Regions from separate parts of the Homo sapiens genome. Here regions 1, 2, 3, 4, 5 and 6 are each linked to region 7. Evidence: promoter capture Hi-C in 16 types of primary human blood cells and fetal thymus (Javierre and others, 2016). All regions are on one chromosome and are shown on one strand. Each heading gives the region's core, a stretch centred on a gene start or on the middle of the fragment in contact. The rest is flanking DNA. Distances are from core to core; before and after follow the strand shown.

Region 1 (2,841 bases), core at 324-2,823, 210 kb before region 7:
TCCCTCTGCCCCTGAGGCTCACACTCCCTTTCCTGGTCCTTCCAGGAGGGGTTCCAATGTCTCCCTGACCCTGGACATGTGCACTCCGGGCTGCAACGAGGAGGGCTTTGGCTATCTCATGTCCCCACGTGAGGAGTCCGCCCGCGAGTACCTGCTCAGCGCCTCCCGTGTCCTCCAAGCAGAAGAGCTTCATGAAAAGGCCCTGGACCCTTTCCTGCTGCAGGCGGAATTCTTTGTGAGTTCCCTTGAGCCGGTCGCCCCACTGTGTGCAGACCCATGTCAATCATCCACCTGCCCAGGTGGTGGAGCGTGGTGCCTGGAACTCAGCATCTGCAGTAGATTAGTATCACTTTATTATCAGCTCTCCCACCATCTTGGGCAAGCTGCTTTCCCTCTGAGCTTCAGTTTCCTCATCTGGAAAATGGGGATGAAAATAATAGAATTGTTGCAAAGATTAAAGAGACTTATAACATGTGCAGAGCACCCAGCCAGGTGATGGAGGTACAGTGACAATGCTAAGTCTTTATTGCCCAGTGCTGTGCTCTGAAAGCCACAGAGAACCTTCACTTCTAACTCTTCTGTTTTCCCACTTTCCTCCTGCCGAGCATTGTTCTTCTGCCTTTGAAATCTCTCTAGTGGCCTCCCCTCGTTACCACCCCTGGGGCCCTAGCTTAGGTCCTAATCACCTCCACCCTGGCTTCTGCAGCAGCCTCCAGCTGCCTCCTATTGGACTTTGAGGGGCTCAATAAATGGCACCCCTGTTTACCTGCCTGAGTGCTCAGCCAGTTAAGAGCTAAGGCATAGGAGATTACAATATCACCTTTGTTGTCAATAAAATACAGGTTGGAAATGTGGCTTAGCAGGGTACAGCAAGAGTGAGCCTCCCGATACTGAGACCCAGAATTACATGCACTTTCCACCCTCCACAGGGGTGCCGGCACATCTCGGACCTTGCCGCATGGGGGCACCCCTATAATTCTTTCCTGGCAGGAGGGCCCTGAGAGGAGGAGGAAGGAAGGGGCTGAGGCTCCAAAGCTCCATTCCTCAACCAAATTCACCAAACAGGTAACTCCTCACTTCTGTGAGCAGGAAAAGGCAAGAGGCCAAGAGTATCTGGGGTGAGTTCCTCCTGGTAGAAGCCACAGGGGTACAGAAGCAGGTGCCTCCTCCCTCATAGCTCCCTTCCTTTGGCCTCCGCCCTGGGCCTGTCTGGACCGGGTAGCTCTCCCCTGTGAGAAGACCTCCATCATCATCTGATCTGCTGCTCCAAGTTCTCCAGAACTTGGTACCACCTGCATACACCATCAGCACCCCTTACCTCGTGTGGCCCCAGCCTCCTTTTCCAGCCTTATGCCCCATGCCCCACCCCTGCAGGGACTGTCCACTTCAAACTGGGCCAGTCTCGTCCGTGCCTTTCTCCTCCTGTGCCTTTGCTCACATCATCACTCACTCCAGATGCCTCTAGAAAGCCTTCTTTAACCACCCCAGCCTCAGCTCCTTCTCTGAGCTCCCACTGCCATCATCTCCCCTTCGAGAAAGAATCACATCCTCTACCTCATTTCCTGTCCGGTGGGTCTTTGTTGAGGAAGGAGCGTGGCCTGAGCACCCACTCTGGGGGCAGTTTTGCACGTGTTGTATTTTTATTTTGATTTTCACAATCCTGGAAAGTGTGATGATCCTCATTTTACAAAGCCCATACTTAGTGTGTCCAAAAACAATGAACAGTGTGAAGTTAGGTGCAGTCAGGGGCTAAGCTGGTGGACAGACTGGAAGGAAATGCAGAGGCAAGAGGCATGGAGAGTCATCCCGGAAGATGTCAGGAGGAGACAGACTCATAGGTGAACTTTTTTTTTTTTTTTTTTTTTGAGACAGGGTTTCACTCTTGTTGCCCAGGCTGGAGTGCAGTGGTGCGATCTTGTCTCACTGCAACCTCCGCCTTCCAGTTCCAAGCGATTCTCCTGCCTCAGCCTCCCTAGTGGCTGGGATTACAGGGGCCCGCCACCAGGTCCAGCTAATTTTTGTATTCTTATTAGAGATGGGGTTTCAACATGTTGGCCAGGGTGGTCTCAAACTCCTGACTTTGTGATCCGCCTGCCTCGGCCTCCCAAAGTGCTGAGATTACAGGCGTGAGCCACCGCGCCCGGGCAGAGGTGAACTTTAAAGGGTGGGAACAACTTGGAGAGATGGGGGTAGGGGAGACCAGCGCCCTCAGGAGGCAGAACGTCACAAGCTCAGACTCAGAGGCAGGACTGAGAACAGCAGATTAACAACAGGGGAGAAACAGGCCTAACTGGAAGTAAAGAGAGGCCAGATTCAAGAAGCCCTCACATGCCAGGAGAGAAGTTCAGACTCAGAGCTCTGGACACAGACAGTGGTTGGGAGGTGCAGATATTCCTGGGATCTCAGAAAGAGGCTTCTCTCCTTCTGGAGAATCAGGGAAGGCTTCTCAGAGGAGGCGGGACATGAGATGAGGATGGGGTGTGTGTTACCACAGAGCAAGCAGCACGAACCTAGGTCCCGAGATAGGGATGCCCAGGGAGGAATGCTGCCCAGGGAGCATGGAAGAAGGCAGCCATTGGCCAGGTCACTTTTTGTCTTTTTCTTCATTCATCAGCTATTTATTGACTGTCTATATATGGCAGGCTGGCTCTCCATAAACAATAGTCATTATCATATTTATTACACACTCAGCATGTGCCAGGCACTGTTCTGAATGCGTCGTGAGCACTAACTCTCTTAATAGTAAATGTTTGTTGAATGAATGCGTGCACTCAAGCCAGCCCCTGGGCTAGGAGTTGGGGGCACAGCAGCCCCTGGATTCAAACATCTGTGAGGGCCCAT
Region 2 (3,003 bases), core at 296-2,795, 180 kb after region 7:
TACAGGTGTGAGCCACCGTGCGTGGTCTGCATTTCTCTTTTAAAGAACAATTTGGATCTAGTTATCAAAACGTTAAATAAAAGCAATAGAGTCAGGATACCTGTAATCCCAGCACTCTGGGAGGCCAAGGTGGGCGAGTCACCTGAGGTCAGGAGTTCAAAACTAGCCCGGCCAACATGGTGAAACCTCATCTCTATCAAAAATACAAAAATTAGCCAGGTATGGTGGCACACACCTGTAATCCCAGCTGTTGGGGAGGCTGAGTGAGGCAGGAGAATCACTTGAACCCAGGAGGCAGAGGTGGCAGTGAGCTGAGATTGCACCACTGCACTCCAGCCTGGGTGACAGAGTGAGACTGTCTCAAAAAAAAAAAAAAAAAAAAAAGTAAATAAAAAGAATAGAATATAGTGAGAAAAACACTGACTATGGATTCAGAAAGATAAAGAGTCAAATTCTTTTTCTAACGTTAATCTAGGCAAGATAAACTTTTCCAAGCTCTATAAAGTAGGATAAAAGAGAATAAAATGAGATTATATTTTAAAACATGTATTGAGTGCACGCTACTTGCTAGACCATGTAGATACAAAATTGATTAAGACCCCATGCCATAGGAGCTTAAATACTAGTTAGTGGGAAGCTGGGCTGGAGAGAATTACTAATCAATCCTACTGGAGAAGAGGGTTCGAAAAAGGTTCACAGAGAACCATAAGATAAACTGGTGCTTGCCAAGTAGATCGGAGACAATAACATTTCAGGGAGAGGAAACTGCTTAAACAAAGGCAAAGAGGCACTGTGGTCCTGATTATTTGGGAGGTTGAGGCAGAAGAACTGTTGAGCCGAAGAGTTCAAGTCCAGCCTGGCAACACAGTGAGACCTTGTCTCTATTTAAAAATAAAACAAAACACAAGCAAAGCAGCAATGTAGTACATATTGTGTCATGAGACTGTATATGGTTCAATACACTAATAACGGTGGTCCAGGAATTGGTGAGGCTAAAAAGGTGAAAGAAAGATCATGAGACTCATATGGGCCAGGCGTGGTGGCTTACGCCTGTAATCCCAACACTTTGGGAGGCTGAGGCGGGTGGATCATGAGGTCAGGAGATCGAGGCCATCCTGGCTAACACGGTGAAATCCTTTCCGTACTAAAAATACAAAAAATTAGCCGGGCGAGGTGGCGGACGCCTGTAGTCCCAGCTACTCAGGAGGCTGAGGCAGGAGAATGGCATGAACCCCAGGGGGCAGAGCCTGCAGTGAGCCGAGATGGTGCTACTGCACTCTAGCCTGGGTGACAGCAAGACTCCGTCTCAAAAAAAAAAAAACTCATATGTGCTGGGTGTGGTGGCTCACGCCTGTAATCCCACCACTTTGGGAGGCTGAGGTGGGTGGGTCACCTGAGGTTGGGAATTCAAGACCAGTCTGGTCGTGGTGAAACCCTGTACTAAAAATACAAAAATTAGCTGGGCGTGGTGTGTGCCTATGATCCCACCTACTCAGGAAGCTGAGGGAGGAGAAGTGCTTGAACTCGGGAGGCAGAGATTGCAGTGAGCTGAGATCACGCCACTGAACTCCAGCCTGGGCAAAAGGGCACGACTCCATCTCAAAAAAAAAAAAAAAAAGATCCATATGCTGTTCATCAATGTATCAAATAATTACTAAGTGATTATTACTACATGACATGCGCTAGGAACAGGCCAATAAACAGAACAAAGTCAGCTTCATGAAGATTACACTCTGAGAGGAGTGTGAATGCAATTATCAAGTAAAACAAGGTAAACACAATATTTTTTGAAAGTGGAAAATGTCATTGAATAAAACAGAGGGTAACATGATGAAGTGACTGAATTTGTGGGTGGTTAGAGAAAGCCTCTCTGAAGCACGCAACTTTTTAATTTTTAATTTTTAAATTTATATTTTTATTTTTTTTTGAGACAGGTTCTCGCTCTGTTGCCCAGGCTGGAGTGCAGTGGTGCAATCGCAGTTCACTGCAGCCTTGACCTCCTGGGCTCAAGTGATCCTCCTACCTTAGCCTCCCGAGTAGCTGGGACTGCAAGTGTATACCACTATGCCCAGCTAATTTTTAAATTAAAAAAAAAAAAAGTTTAGAGATGTGGTCTCACAATGGACTCAAACGATCCTCCCACCTCAGCCTCCCAAAGTGCTAGGATTAAAGGCATGAGCCACCCCACCTGGCGAGAAATGACATTAGAACAGGTATCTAAAGATAGGCAGAAGCTGGTTAGGGAACAAGCAGGTAGAAGATCAGTTAAGTGCATAGGCCCTGAGGTAGAAAAAGCGTGGCATGGAAGTGAATGGTCATTATGTCTAAAGCATGAATGAGTAGAAGTGGCCCCAACTGAGAAGTATGCAGGAGCCAAATCTAGCAGTCTTGTAGGAGTTTTGATTTTATTCTAAGCTCAATGAGAAGATAATGAAGAGATTCACATAGGGGATTATTAGGATCTGATTTATATTATAATCCTTTTTTTTTTTTTTTTTTTTGAGACAGTCTCACTCTGTCACTCAGGCAGGAGTGCAGTGGTGCAATCTTAGCTCACTGCAGCCTCTGCCTCCCCGGTTCCAGCGACTCTCCTGCCTCAGCCTCCTGGGTAGCTGGAATTACAGGCATGTGCCGCCAGGCCCGGCTAATTTTTGTATTTTTAGTGGAGATGGGGTTTCACCATGTTGGCCAGGCTGGTCTCAAACTCCTGACCTCAGGTGATCCACCCACCTTGGCGTCCCAAAGTGCTCGATCACAGGCACGAGCCACCACGCCCGGCCTATATTATAATTATTACTGCTAGGGGAGAATAAACTATAAAAGACAAGATAGCAAAAATAAAGGTTAGAAGGCTAAGGCAAGCAAACAGGCCAAAGATGATGATACCGTAAACATGAAAGGGTGTAAGCGTTTGTGTAGATCCCACAGATGAGAGGTGTATTGTACGAGGCTTGTTGATACACTGAATGCTGGACATAACAGGAGGAAAACATGGCTGGCTGC
Region 3 (2,700 bases), core at 146-2,645, 220 kb after region 7:
CTGATTCAGTTCTTTGAAAGGCTAACTAACCACTCTTTGTGATTTTTAAAAATAATTGAAGTGTTAACTAATTGCCTCTAAGGGTAAGGATAAAAACCAGTTCATGTATTTGTCATACTTCCTACACTGAAGTATTTAAAAGTGAATTATAAGGCCGGGTGTGGCTCATGCCTGTAATCCCAGCAATTTGGGAGACCGAGGCGGACAGATCTTCTGAGGTCGGGAGTTCAAGACTAGCCTATCAACATGGAGAAACCCCGTCTCTACTAAAAATACAAAAATTAGCCAGGCATAGTGGCATGCTCCTGTAATCCCAGCTAGTAGGGAGGCTGAGGCAGGAGAATCGCTTGAACCTGGAAGGTAGAGGTTGCAGTGAGCCGAGATCGTGCCATTGCACTCCAGCCTGGGCCACAGAGCAAGACTCTGTCTCAAAAAAAAAAAAAAAAAAGTGAATTATAGACATTATAACACTTTAGTAACTCCATAATTCTTCATGAAAGTTACTAGAGAAAGACATTTATTTATTTACCCATAATTAGATAAAGCATATTAAAAACTCTTCCTCCTTTAGCATTCTTCCTTTGTGGCACTTGTCACAGTTTATAATTACATATTAATATAATATTTATACATGTCTTACCCTAAACAGTAAGCTCCATGAGGGCTTTATTTCTGTTTTGTTGACTATTATTTTTTCAATGCTTGGCCTAATGCCTGGCACATGATAGATACTTAATAAATATTTGTTGACTATGATGTGATGTGCGGGGTATTGGGAAGTCCCTTACCCAAGTTTTTTTTTTTTTTTTTAGAGACGGAGTCTTGCTCTGTCACCCACATTGGAGTGCAGTGGTGCGATCTTAGCTCACTGCAGCCTCTGCCTCCCAGGTTCTAGCAATTCTCCTGCCTCAGCCTTCCAAGTAGCTGGGACTCACAGGCGCACGCCACCACGCCTGGCTAATTTTTTGTATTTTAGTAGGGATGGGGTTTCACCATGTTGCCCAGGCTGGTCTCGAACTCCTGAGCTCAGGCAATCCACCTGCATCGGCTTCCCAAAGTACCCAAGAATATGTTTTCTAGTAGTCGGGCCACAATACACTTAGCTCTCCTGGTAGAGTTATTCTTTTGGCTGTAGCTATTTAAAGCTGCTGTTATAGTCCCTACCATGGTAGACAAAAAGCCTTTGATGATCTGGCTCTGCCTATTCCTCAGCTAAAGCAACAATTAACGCCACTTTGAAACTTCTGCTGATTCCTCAAAGAGGCTTACGTTAGACAACCTATTTCTGTGCATGTACTGTTGTCAAACCATATTCATTCCTTTATCATTGCCACTGTCTTACTGTATTATGAGTATGCATCCCAGCATCAGATTGTCAACTCCTTTTCATGGGCAGTGCTAGACACATAGAAAACCCTCAAATGATAGTGAATTCAACAAAGAGTTTTTTCGAAAACATGAAGAGGAGGGCTTCTTTTCATTCCTGTTTGTTTATGTTTTTCATTCGTACACTGTGCCCTATGGGACTTTTACTGTTGCAACCCATAAATCCCAGAGGGGGCATCCTTATGTACTTTGTTTCCTTTCAGGCACATTCCTTTCTGGAACTTCTAAAACAATGCTGTTAGGCTTATGTCCCCATTTATTATCAGTGAAGGGATAAGGGGACAAGGAATGTATAAATTACAAGTATCAGCTTTTATCTAAGTTCCCGTCCTCAGCCCCCCATCTAATCTAGGTTGCTATTCCTAAGGAATTTTCCAAGCTGAATGTCAGGTTCAGTATCAAAATTATGATCCTGTATCTCTTTCTCAGGGATCCTCTGACACCCCCCCCCCCCCCGCTTTTTTTCTCCTTTGACTCTTGAAGGCAGCCTTCTCAATTTTACTTTGGATTCAGATTCTGACCATTTCTTGCATTTTATGACAAAGATTACTTTCCTGTAGGGATAGTGATCTGGTCTTTCATATTGACAAAATGTTTAACACTTACATGAGGGCCCAACTCCTGTTAAAAATCAATTAGTTTCATAGCCACATGGAACCATTTTTAGTACTCTTGGAAACATAAAGGAAAAAGAAATATAGTCCCTGTTCTTCAGAGTATAATTTATTAGAGAGATATGATTTATTTGTCCAAAAAGTTTAACAACAATAAGAAGTAAGAGTTGTGACAGTGCAGTAGATGATTAAGTGCCATATGAGCAGAGTATAAGAAATAGGTTGAGTGCAAGAAATAGGGTGAGTGTTGTGGGCTGTAAGGGAGGATTTCAGAGGGAAGTAGAACTTCTGATCCTTGAGAGGTGGCTAGATTAAGAACATTGTAAGTTGGAGAATGTCCTGAACAGCATTAGGAAGTGGAGATTACCAGTGGTATATAAAAAATAGTAGCAGCCTTGAGAGAATAAATGAAATATATGAGATAAATTTATATGAGTAAGTATAGAAAAAGATGAGGAGAAAAAAATGAGTCCTCCAGACCAGAGGACTGGAGAGAAAGAGAACCAAGAAAATGCAGTGTCCAGGAGCCCCAGGAGGTGAGGTTCAAGAAGCAGAGAACAGTTAGCAGGGTTGGCTTCTGCTTGGGGTTAAGAAAATGGGAAGTGATGAAGGGTTATTGGGTTTGGCAGTTTGGGAATCTGTGACTTTTTGAGAATTCAGTTAAGTGGAATAGTTAGGATTCCAGATAATAGTGAGTAGG
Region 4 (2,541 bases), core at 42-2,541, 240 kb after region 7:
TCATTTGCATATGAGGCAGCTTCTGTTAGTATATTTATTTTCATTTGTAATAAGTAACCTAAATGTAACCAAGTTATATAATTTCACTGAAATTAGAGACTAAAGTGTTTTGTTTTTAAATGCAGGTTGTATGAAAAGTTTGGGGAGTCTGCTCTTCGATCCTTAATCAAGTTCTTTCCATCCATTTTGCCATCGGATATCATACAACTTTGTCATCATCATCCTGCTGAGTTTTTGGCCTATTTAGACAGTCTGGTGAAATCAAGGCCTGAAGATCAGCGGTGAGAAGGAGAGCATATTTGCAGACTCTCCTTTCTTTTGACAGGGCATTGTTTCTCTTTTATAAGCAGGTGTCACATTGTGTACTGTTAATTACCAAGGGGTTGAGGCACATACTATGGAAGAGGAGGATTTGGGAGGCCTTGTAACATTCTGCCACATGTCACAGCACACATCACAAATGTGCATGTACCACACTTCTTCACTGCCTCTCAGGGATTCTCAGATCAGTGCAAAATTAATCCCTTGATTCAGGGCCTGAACTAAGAAGATAAGCTTCTTATTGTCTTTGCAGTGAGTAGATTCACTGCCACCTTTTTATTGACATAGATCTCAGTTCCAGCTCTTCTCTTTTTAGGCTGATGTCTGATTTTCTGTCTCCCCATGGTTGTAACACTTGTGACCTGTGCCCCTGGCTTATTAGACTAGCGGCTTCCTCCTTTCTTCTTTTGATTGGTTCACATTTGCCACAATGTTGCCCAGGCTGGATGCAGTGGCTATTCACGGGTATGATCATAGCATACTACAGCCTCAAACTTATGGCCTCAGTGATCTTCCTACTCTGGCCACACTGGTTTTTATTTGTCTCTTTCTTTCTCTCTCTCTTTCTCTCCCTTTTTTTTTTTCTTTTTTGGCCCTTTGACATTTTCTTTGTTATCTTGGAGCTTGGTCACCAGCATTTCTAGACATTTTGTAGCAGAAGAGTTTTCAAGTTATTTCTTCTTCTATATTCATCTCTTAATCAGGTTTTCTTCACACTCCCCACATTTTATGCTTCCTTTCTTAGCATGAAGATTGGTGACTTTTTTCCCCAACTTTCTCTTAGGTCATCTTTTCTTGAGTCCCTTCTGCAACCAGAGTCTTTAAGGTTGGATTGGCTGCTTTTGGCAGTGTCCCTTGATGCTCCACCAAGCACCAGCACAATGGATGATGAAGGTTATCCCAGGTACAGAAGAAGTCCTCTTTCTTTGTTTTTTTCTTTACTTTTTTTTTTTGAGACAGGATCTCACTCTGTCGCCTAGGCTGGAATGTGGTGCTAAGATCATGGCTTCCTGCAGCCTTGACCTCCTAGGCTCAGGTGATTAAACCCTTCAACCTTAGCTTCCTGAGTAGCTGGGAAGACAGGAGCACACCACTCTGCCCGGCTAATTTTTTGTACAGATGAGATTTCGCCTTATGGCCCAGGCTGGTCTCGATCTCCTGGGCTCAAGCGATCTACCTGCCTTGGCCTCACAAAGTGCTGGGATTAGAGGCGTGAGCCACTGTGCCTGGCTAGGAGTCTTATTTCTAAGGATTAAGCTCCAGTGTTCCTTTGGAATGGAACTGGTTTATTCACATATGGCATTCTGGGCTCACTTTAGAAATAGCTATGGAAGAGACTGACCCAAGTCATGGTAGTAATGAGATTAAGTATATTTCTTAGTGGTTCTGAAATTTTTTGGGGTCACCCTATAAGAATCTGATGATTCCTTTTAGAAAAATGCAGTCATGCAAAACTTTGCACAGCTGACCGCCTGCAGGTTTTTCATGGGCCCACATTAAGAGACCTTGGTGATTAAGCCTGTGAGAGGATAAAACTGGGTGTGGGGGTTAGGGAGATAGGTATGTATGTGTTTTCTTCCTAAAAATGTGTCAAGGAATTTTTAGACATAACCTGATCTAGGACTTTAAAAATAAAATAAAATTAAAGTACACACTGGTACTTGTGTCAGAACTATTGCTTGCGTTTCCTCCCAGGAGAAGCTTCTTAAAAGACCCCCAAATGCCTGTCTTATATTCCTAGCAAAAAGTCTGGAAGGATATGCAGTGGTTATCTGTGAGTGATGGAATGATAGAATTAAAAGAAGAAAAAAGAATTTATTTCTTTTGCTTTTGATTACCTAAAGTATCTAATCTTTAAAAATAAACAGGTTATAGGAAAAATAGCTATTTTTAAGTTTTCAAAAGCCAAATAGCAATGTTTTTAAAATGTAGTAATAGAATGCAGTTAAACTCTATTCTTACCTATTAGGTGATAAATAAGCATTTTCTAGAGTTTATTTCCTATCTAATTTACTGATTCCTTTTCATTTCATAGGCCTCATTCACACTTGCTTTCCTGGGGTTACAGTCAGCTGATCCTTCATCTAATTAAACTTCCTGCAGATTTTATAACCAAAGAGAAAATGACAGACATCTGCAGGTCTTGTGGGTAAGTGAGAATTTTTTAGAAACTGAAGTTAAGGTTAGAAACATTTCAGTTAACAACTTTATAGTTAAGGG
Region 5 (2,967 bases), core at 403-2,902, 250 kb before region 7:
CTGGCCTACATTATTCTTTTTTTAATTCCTGCATAATAATCTCATTTACTTCATCTTGCTCCCAGTGATACAGCAGTTCAGGTCCAGTAAAGAGAAAGTTAAGAACCGGTTTACCAGCACTCCGCAAGATTCATCCCAGAGTCTTCATGGACCTTATCCGTGGGAGGAGAAAAGTTATATTAACTGGGAAACAGGCAAAGCCTGAAACACAAGATGATGACAGTTAACATTTTTAGGAGCTTCCTGGCCCTGATCTACACATTTTCCATGCATCTCATGTAAAAACTTTGTGTGAAGATCAACATTCATTTAATCTCCATTATAACCCTCTGGAGTGTAGACACATTTATCCTTGCTTCACAGATGAAGAAACTGAGGCACAGAGAAGTCAAAATCTTGCCCAAGATCAGGCAGCCAGTGGGGGAGCCTTGATTCATACTGGGGGAGTCCAGAGCCAAAGCCTATGTGTTTACTACTTTTATGGTGTTGTTTGTTTGTTTGTTTGTTTTGAGATGGAGTCTCATTCTGTCGCCCAGGCTGGAGTGCTGTGGCACAATCTTGGCTCACTGCAACTTCCGCCTCTCTGGTTCAAGTGATTCTCCTGCCTCAGCCTCCCAAGTAGCTGGGATTACAGGCGCCCGCCACCACGCCCGGCTAATTTTGTATTTTTAGTAGAGACAGGGTTTCACCATGTTAGTCAGGCTGGTCTCAAACTTCTTACATCAGGTGATCTGCCCACCTCGGCCTCCCAAAGTTCTGGGATTACAGGCATGAGCCACCGTGCCTGGCCCTTTATGGTGTTTTTAATGAGCCATTTGTAAATGCTCAAACATTACCCCACTTTTCATTTTTTTTAACATTTGCCTGGTGCCAGATACAGTATTGGACATGGGAAGCAGAAAAGTCCATATCAGATGCTGTAAACCTAGTGATTTAAATAAAGCCTGGGGTTGAGATAAACTGAGTTTGAAGCCTGGTTCTGCAACATACCAACTATATGACCTTGAGCAGGTGACTTAGTGTCTCCAAGTCCCAATCTCCACGTGTAGGTGGAGGATGACTTTTTACCTCATATGGTTCTAGTGAGAGGTGAATGATGTCATACGTGTGCAGTGCTTGGCACGACATCCAGCACACAATAAGCCTGCAATAAAAGGAAGCTGCGGTAATCACAGACCACAGGTTTATGTCCAGGGAGCTCTGTGTGAGGCTGGGAGACTGGCATCAACAGATAATGACCGTATGGAGGGGTAAGAACAGAAGACGGAGTACCCAGTTCTTCCTAAGGGAGTTGGGGAGGGTTCTATTGAGGAGGTGACATTTGAACAGAGTCTTAAAAGGCAAATAAGAATTTTCCAAGCAGAGAAGGGAAAAGGGGGCTTTCCAGTGGAGGAAAAAGTGCATCCTAAAGCATTATAGGTAGGAGCAAGCATGTAACTGAACGGAAATACCAGAAGACGCCCACAAGAAGTGTGATCACACCTTTGCATTTGTGATTGCCTGTTTTCTCCCGGTAAATTAAACTGCATACCTGGGGGCAGGTGCAGGGAGAGGGAGCAGAATGCAATGTTTTCAGAGTCTTGGAGAACAGAGGATCAGACCGGATAACCTTTGAACTCCAAAATCCTGCCTTTCTATCTTTTGGGTCCGTGACCGCCGCACCATTTATAATCAGGTAGGACCATCCACAGCATCAAATCACAGCTGAACCTGGACTCTCTTAATAATTGGCTCAGGCCGGACATGCTTGCAGGTTGGGCTCCATGGACCAAGGCCTGTTTCCCTGATGCTGTGAGCGCCCTCTGCTGGTTCACTGCCGTTCCACCCTCTGCCTCGTTAAACCTGACAGGCCTGGAATTGAAGCCTGACCTCTAAGGAAAGGCCCTTAGAGGTCATCTCATTCAGGCCCTTTGGTTTTCATTTGGAGCTACTGAGATTCAGATAAGGGAAATGACTAGCCCAAGGTCACACAGTAGCCTGGGACTAGAGCCCATGGCTTCTGGGCCCTGGGCCAGTGAGTGTATTCGTCATGGCACTGATGGAACACAGCTGCCACCAACACAGGCTCCCCACCCAAGCCAGCCTCCCAAACTCCCCATGCAAGCTAGCCTCCCAAGGCCTGCTTCCTGGGCTGTTGCTTCAAGTGGAGAAACCCGAGGTCGTGGTCCCGCGCAGGACTTCCAGTCGTTCTTCTGGGGAGAACAGCAGTGATCCCAAGCAAGGACACAGGCACAGGGATCTCCCTCTTGCTCCTTCACTCGTTTGCTTGGGTCACTTCACCCCCTGAGCCTTAGTTTTCTCGTCTGTAAAAATGGTGATCATCACATGCTACTCACATAGATTTATGGTGAGGATTTTTTAAAAGAACATATAGAAAGCAACTGCCATGATATGCTGTCTCTTCCTATTGTATTTGCGGAATATTTTTTCTTACCAAAAGCTAAAAAGTGAAAGAGAGGTTAGGAATGTGGGCAATGGGGGAAGTTCTGTGATAACTAGCTGTGTGGCCTTAGGCAGGTCACTTTACTTCTCTGAATTTCCATTTCCGCCTTTAGAAAATGCAGGAAACGTTAGTACGTTCCTCCAGGGGCTGCTGTGAGGACTGAGTTTGCTAACACCTGCCCTGGAGCAGTTCCTGGCCTGTGTGGTCCGGGTGCAGTAGTGACAGCTGCCCTTTCTGTTGTGAAGATACTGTCATTGTTATCCTCTTCGGTCGGGAGCTAAGATGTTACTGAACAGGTGGTCCGAAGATTGCTTCTGCCCTTTTTCCTGCTTCCTTTCTCTCTCAGATCACCTCCTCCTGTTCCCTTCCATCCTCACCAACCTGACCATGAAATTTTAAAAGTGTAGATTTTAAAAGAAAGCCAAAGTGGCCCTGAGAAGAGGCTGGGAGGGTCCACAGAGTCTGAGCTGAATCACTGTGAATTTCTGACCCTCCACCCCAAAGATGTATTTAGGACAGAATGT
Region 6 (2,852 bases), core at 113-2,612, 190 kb before region 7:
TTCCTATTGTCCCCTAAAAAAAAAAAAGGCCTCCTACCTTATCTGACAGAAAGTCTCCCTGTGGTTCCTTTTCCTTCCCCCACTAATGGCCGGACTTTGATCCAGCTGGAGCCACTGACTTCGGATGACTCTGACAACTATAAGTGCATTGCAAGCAATGACCATGCAGATGCCATCTATACCGTATCTCTGCTGGTAACAGAAGGTGAGTTGGCCCCTTCCTCTTGGCCTTTCTTCTTAGGGACCAGACTCCCCCTGTCTGAACCTGTCCCTCTGTCTATCCTCAGGTCAAGAGAAAATGGACTTCAAAAAGATGCTGAAGAAGAGGTGAGGCTGGCAGGTCCTTCTGCCCAAGATATTGTCTCCTCATCCAGGCCAAAGCCTCTCAAAGGCCTCTCAACAAGGCCCTGAGTTCCAAGAATCCATGGAGTAGGGAGGGGTTTCTCAAGGTTGGAGAGGCATTGTGTACAAGCTTAGTCCCTTCCTCCTTCTCCTAGGGCACCCCCTGCTCCCAAGAAGAAGCAGAAGAAGGTGGCAAATGAGAAAGAGATGCTGGAGATTTTGTCCAAAGTGCCCAAGAAAGACTTTGAGAAGGTGTGCATGGAGTATGGTTTCACCGACTTTCGGGGGCTGCTCAGGAAGCTCAAAGAGATGAAGAAGAAAGTAGAGGTGGAGGTAAGTACCCTGCAGGGAGCAGGGGCCTGCAGGCTAGGGGCAGGGCTTCACCCAAAGTGCTAGTGCCTGTGTATTTCTCAGCAAGAAGGTCTCCCCAGTTCTGCACACACATACTCAGAGGCGTACTCTCCACTGTGAAAGCAGCAAGGGAGCACAAGTCACCTTCCTTCTACTTCTGTCTTCACCACTCCCAAACATACTTGCATGGACTTTGGAGTCAGATAGACCGAGATTCAAATCCCAGTTCTAGGCTGGGTGCAGTGGCTCACGCCTGTAATCCCAGCACTCTGGGAGGCCAAGGTGGGTGGATCACCTGAGGTCAGGAGTTTGAGACCAGCCTGGCCAACATGATGAAACCCTGTCTCTACTAAAAATACAAAAAAAACAAAAAAAAACAAAAAAAAACCGCTGGGTGTGGTGGCACACACCTGTAATCCCAGCTACTTGGGAGGCTGAAACAGGAGAATTGCTTGAACCCAGGAGGTGGAGGTTGCGGTGAGCCAAGATCACGCCACTGCACTCCAGCCTGGGTGACAGAGCAAGACTCCGTCTCAAAACAAACAAACAAACAAATCCCAGTTGTACTGCCTTATTAGCTGTGTGAACTTGGGCATCTCTCTGAGCTTCAGTTTCCTCATCTACAAAATGAAAATTATACTTCCTTCTTTCATTTGTTTTTGTGTTGTTGCTGTCATTCATTGGTTCACTCAACCAACTCATTAAGCCTCTACACTGGAATTAGGGAATCTATATAATGGGCCCAGGTACATAGTGACTATTCCATGAATGATGGTTTTTTACTCATCCCCCGTAATGTTCCTCTCCTCCTAAATCTTTCAGTTGATCACTGGAGCACTGCACGTTGTTATCTAATGAGCCTAGTCATTTCTCCCCACATGCTTAAGAGTTTCTCCAGGATTGAGGACACAGTCTGGGCAGGCTTTGGGTACCACTGACACTTGTCATTTTATTATCATAATCTCTCAGGCCATCCGGATTCTGAAGCCCCTGGAAGACAAAGAGACCAAGGTTGACACCACAGTGGTCTTTGACTGCATAATGGAACTGAAAGACCCCAATGTCAAGATGATATGGATCAAGGTGGGGGATGCCTAGCCAGGGTCCACCTTGGCAATATCTCTTCCTCTCTACCCCCTTCTCTCACTGTATATAAGCCATAGCCTCTCTTCCATCCCATCAAGAGGATGCCTCCTGGTATGGTTGAAAGAGGCTGGAATTGGGCTCTACTCTTAACTGTTTCACCCCTTTGTTGTGTGATGTAAGAGAGTCACATTCCTCTCTCTATGCCTCAGTCTACCCATCTTTAAATTGAAAGGCTAGATTAGACAGTCTTGAAGGTCACTGAAGATCTGTGCCTCTAAGGGAAAGCATCTAATGAACTCATGCATATTAAGAGCTCGGGCCTGTGAGGAGGCCTGTGGGGAGGCAGGAATCTTGGATCCCACCAAACCAGATGATGAGGCTATAGAGATCATAGGGATCTCTGTCTTTAGAGGGTTGGACATGCACCCTCCAGCTTAGGCTGGCGCTGGGGAATGGAGACCTCTGGAAGCTTCCTCCTAAAGCCCTTCATCAGCTTTCCTACCTGTTCCATGAGGCAGGGTACTGAGCCACTGAGGATCCAGTACTCCCTGGGCAAGTACGATGTGAAGCAGATGGGCACCAAGTACATGCTGGTTATTAGCAACGTGAACATGAACGATGCTGGCATCTACAGCCTGTCCGTGGGCGATAAGCGGATGAGTGCAGAGCTCACAGTGCTGGGTATGAGTGGGGGCATGCAAGGGCACAAGGAGGACATGTCGGGTTGGAAGAGAGGAATGGCCAGGGTTGGGATCCATGGGGATATTGAAGAGAGGACTATGGGACTGTGCAAGAAAGGATTGTGTGGGGATGGGAGTCAATGGAGGGAGGAAGCATCAGATGTAAGGGAGAGGACTATGAGATAATAAGTGCCTTGGGGCTGTGTAGCATAGTGATTAAGAACATAGACTCTAGGCCAGGCGTGGTGGCTCATACCTGTAATCCCAGCACTTTGGGAGGCTGAGGCAGGAGAACCGTTTGACACCAAAAGTTCAAGACCAACCTGGGCAATATAGTGAAACCCCATCTCTACAAAAATAAATAAATAATTGGCCAGGTATGGTGGCACACAC
Region 7 (2,982 bases), core at 444-2,943:
GGATCACCTGAGGTCAAGAGTTCCAGACCAGCCTGGCCAACATAGTGAAATCCTGTCTCTACTAAAAATACAAAAAATTAGCTGGGTGTGGTGGTGGGCACCTGTAATCCCAGCTACTCGGGAGGCTTAGGCAGGAGAATCGCTTGAACCCGGGAGGCAGAGGTTGCAGTGAGCCAAGATCACACTATCGCACTCCAGCCTGGGAAGCAAGAGCAAAACTCTGTCTCAAAAAAAAAAAAAAAAAAAAAAAAAAAAAATATATATATATATATATATATATATATATATATATGTAAAATTTATTTTAATATTTATAAATGTTGCATTTATAAAATATATAAATAATATATATTACCTGGCATTCCTCCAACTCACAAAGGTACAGTTGCTCTAATTAAAGGGACTCCTGGTTAAGCCGTGGCTTTAAGAACAGTTTGAAAACCTTCTTGCTTTTAAAAGACATAAAACAGCAAGTAAAATGGAAGGACAGACAGACCTCTAGTTTGGTTTGACTGGAGCTGTATGCTTAACTAAGGAGCTGAAAAACAGAGGCGGAGGTTGCAGTGAGCCGAGATGGTGCTACTGCACTCCAGCCTGGGCGATGGAGTGAGAGTGACTCAAAAAAAAAAAAAAAAGAAAAAGAAAAAGAAAAACAATACCTATTAATAGCCTTTATTTGTGCGTGTTAGCAACAGTTTATAATGATGCTTCCACATGCTTTCAGTTAGGCCCTCCTTGTGAATGTGACCTTCACTTAGACGCCAACTTTGAAGGGAATCAATACTACGGCCTTGTTCTCATTAGGGCTGTACTAAAATAATTGAAACTGTCACACATCATCAAACTCAAAATTTTACAATACCTTGAATGACACTGTGCTTACAAAACTGACGGTGATGTGTAATGATGACTAATGTAAGTCACCATGAAGAATTTTTATGGGAAGTAAAAATTCAATTAAGATGGAAGTACCTACCCTTGCATTGTGCAAGGCAATGAAGATCTGAAGGAAGCCTGCCTTCAAGGGCTTGGATTTTGACAGCGGACAGGTACACAAATACAGCACCAGGTAAAATACGGCCTGTATTATCATTTATGGGTGGGTACAGAGGAGAAATTCTGACTTACGGAATGATTTCCTGGAGAAGAAATTACTATCTGGCTTCTTGTGAAACAAAGGCTCTACACTTTACCCTTGCCAACGTATAGTATGAAGGTCTTTAAGCTTAAAAAAAATCATTAATTAGAGGACCACTGGGCATCATCTAAGGCAAGTGTATGACTTTAGAGTCGGGAGAAATTTGCGCCTGAGCTAGAAATGCACTAGCCTACCATTATCACAAGAGCAAGTCAGTGACAGAACAGTTCTCTGACCGCCAGTGCAGTGCCCTCCCACTTGATCAATCAGTCATTAAGGCTCACTGGCAAGCCCTTCGTACTTCTTCCCTCTCCGGCACTAGCTTCCTTAAGTCGACTCTGTGAAATACCTGCTAATCTTATCCTGAACCAGAGTTTCGACCCTCGGAACAGTCTTGCCCACATCTTTGGGACCCGATTCGTCCTGCTGATTCCGGCACTCGAGGGGCGGGTTGGTTGGAACCCACCCCACCAGGCCCCTCTCAATCCCACACGGTGTCCACCCTTGCCCGCAGGACGGCGGCCCGGAAGTGACGTAGTGGAAGCGGAAGTGGTGTAGTGGTGCCGACTTCCTGTTGTTTGAGGCCGGGTTGGGGGTGTGCGATTGTGTGGGACGGTCTGGGGCAGCCCAGCAGCGGCTGACCCTCTGCCTGCGGGGAAGGGAGTCGCCAGGCGGCCGTCATGGCGGTGTCGGAGAGCCAGCTCAAGAAAATGGTGTCCAAGGTGAGGCTGCGACGCGCTCGCCTCCCAGGGCGCGCCCACCGCTCCCTTCCGCGCCCTGTCGAGTCCGTCCCGGCCCAGCCAAGCAAGCTTCCCAGACGGGCCGGAAGCCCCGGTGCAGTCCTTAGCGACCTCCTCAGAACCCCGCCCCGAGGCGCCTGTCGCCTGGTGCGGGAATCCCCGTACGGGAGCTGGGAGGGTGGGGGACGGCGACAGTCAACAAAGGCGTGGAGCGGAGGCTACCTGACACCTGCCGCCCACCCGCCCTCCTCTCTTCCACTGAGTTTGGAGCTGTCTGTGGGGCAGTGTAGTTTTTCGTTTGTTTTTATAAACACAAACAAGGGATCATACTTAGTTGTAGATCTGAGGCAATCCTCTACTCCTGTCCCAATCTAGGGATCCTCCAGTCTTAGCCTTTCTTTTGCCGACCCGCAGAGAGTGTGGCCTTTTCAGTTTTGTATTCTCCAGAAAAGAAGCGAAAATACCAGTCCCTTACTGCCCCAGGTGAAATACATACCATTACCATTTCAGGGATTTTCTAAGAGTAACTACTTTTAAGTGTATGCTTCTTATAACGCGTATTTATTTGCTTTGAGCTTAATTTATGATCTTCACGGCTCAAGACTAGTGTTTTTTTTTTCAATTTTTAAAAAAGCAGTTAAGCATTTTGTATTTTAAAGCCATGATTTATTTATATAATTACTTCAAACGTGGCACCTCACACCAGAGTGGAATGGCTTTTGTTATGTTTTGTTGTAATTTTCCAAAACTATGTAAAATGATTGAGAGTTGAGTCTTGACCAGTTCAACGTGTTAGCTTGGGATAGTTTTGTCAAAGCAAGAATGGTAGCAATCAGCGGTTTAAGCGGTTTCAATTTTTAATAAAACACACTATTATGTGTAAAACTTTTTTAAAAACAGACTTTTTCCAGTTAAATCGCCCCCATAGTTCTTGATTGAAGACCAAATAATCTCTAAGGAGAAAATGACAGCTTTCAAAATAAAGCATATATTGGTTGTGTAATCGTATATTTTAGGCTTCTTGGTTTTGTTTTGATAAACTTGTTATCCTTAGTTATAGAAGACATATGGGAAGCCATAGAAGATTGTGACCCAGGTAAAGAT

What was found. Contacts are between HindIII fragments. The CHiCAGO score rates a contact against its expected background, and 5 or more counts as called.
Region 1: a fragment that was not itself captured here is called in contact with the fragment with the promoter of TSG101 in region 7 in 6 of 17 cell types (activated CD4 T cells, naive CD4 T cells, naive CD8 T cells and 3 more); the score reaches 11.1 in activated CD4 T cells.
Region 2: a contact is called between a fragment that was not itself captured here and the fragment with the promoter of TSG101 in region 7, in 1 of 17 cell types (total B cells). The highest score is 5.1, in total B cells.
Region 3: a fragment that was not itself captured here is called in contact with the fragment with the promoter of TSG101 in region 7 in 1 of 17 cell types (total B cells); the score reaches 5.6 in total B cells.
Region 4: a fragment that was not itself captured here is called in contact with the fragment with the promoter of TSG101 in region 7 in 6 of 17 cell types (total B cells, monocytes, naive B cells and 3 more); the score reaches 7.6 in total B cells.
Region 5: a fragment that was not itself captured here is called in contact with the fragment with the promoter of TSG101 in region 7 in 1 of 17 cell types (naive CD4 T cells); the score reaches 5.1 in naive CD4 T cells.
Region 6: a fragment that was not itself captured here is called in contact with the fragment with the promoter of TSG101 in region 7 in 9 of 17 cell types (naive CD4 T cells, total CD4 T cells, naive CD8 T cells and 6 more); the score reaches 16.0 in naive CD4 T cells.

What each region holds. Positions count from the first base shown.
Region 1 is chr11:18,737,997-18,740,837 of GRCh38, reverse strand. PTPN5 (protein tyrosine phosphatase non-receptor type 5) reads left to right here. Exons shown (of 15, transcript NM_006906.2): 8 at 46-235. IGSF22-AS1 (IGSF22 antisense RNA 1) reads right to left here. Exons shown (of 3, transcript NR_186353.1): 3 at 1-414. Among named protein-coding and RNA genes, the nearest start is that of IGSF22, 13 kb to the right of the region's middle. The HindIII fragment of the contact is 8,092 bases long and covers 1-2,841 here.
Region 2 is chr11:18,344,115-18,347,117 of GRCh38, reverse strand. The region is part of intron 7 of GTF2H1 (general transcription factor IIH subunit 1); the gene reads right to left. Among named protein-coding and RNA genes, the nearest start is that of GTF2H1, 23 kb to the right of the region's middle. The HindIII fragment of the contact is 5,791 bases long and covers 1-3,003 here.
Region 3 is chr11:18,301,965-18,304,664 of GRCh38, reverse strand. All of the region lies in intron 8 of HPS5 (HPS5 biogenesis of lysosomal organelles complex 2 subunit 2), which reads left to right. Among named protein-coding and RNA genes, the nearest start is that of HPS5, 19 kb to the left of the region's middle. The HindIII fragment of the contact is 3,514 bases long and covers 1-2,700 here.
Region 4 is chr11:18,285,275-18,287,815 of GRCh38, reverse strand. HPS5 (HPS5 biogenesis of lysosomal organelles complex 2 subunit 2) reads left to right here. Exons shown (of 23, transcript NM_181507.2): 18 at 126-281; 19 at 1,106-1,225; 20 at 2,357-2,470. Among named protein-coding and RNA genes, the nearest start is that of SAA1, 20 kb to the right of the region's middle. The HindIII fragment of the contact is 1,467 bases long and covers 558-2,024 here.
Region 5 is chr11:18,774,703-18,777,669 of GRCh38, reverse strand. The region is part of intron 1 of PTPN5 (protein tyrosine phosphatase non-receptor type 5); the gene reads left to right. Among named protein-coding and RNA genes, the nearest start is that of PTPN5, 16 kb to the left of the region's middle. RefSeq lists an enhancer at 1,694-1,988. The HindIII fragment of the contact is 8,027 bases long and covers 1-2,967 here.
Region 6 is chr11:18,717,539-18,720,390 of GRCh38, reverse strand. IGSF22 (immunoglobulin superfamily member 22) reads left to right here. Exons shown (of 23, transcript NM_173588.4): 5 at 106-205; 6 at 288-327; 7 at 498-675; 8 at 1,663-1,776; 9 at 2,298-2,460. All of the region lies in intron 2 of IGSF22-AS1 (IGSF22 antisense RNA 1), which reads right to left. Among named protein-coding and RNA genes, the nearest start is that of IGSF22, 7.2 kb to the left of the region's middle. The HindIII fragment of the contact is 1,776 bases long and covers 475-2,250 here.
Region 7 is chr11:18,525,653-18,528,634 of GRCh38, reverse strand. It overlaps TSG101 (tumor susceptibility 101), which reads left to right and starts at 1,693. Exons shown (of 10, transcript NM_006292.4): 1 at 1,693-1,860. The coding sequence starts at 1,819. RefSeq lists an enhancer at 1,424-1,533. The HindIII fragment of the contact is 722 bases long and covers 1,228-1,949 here.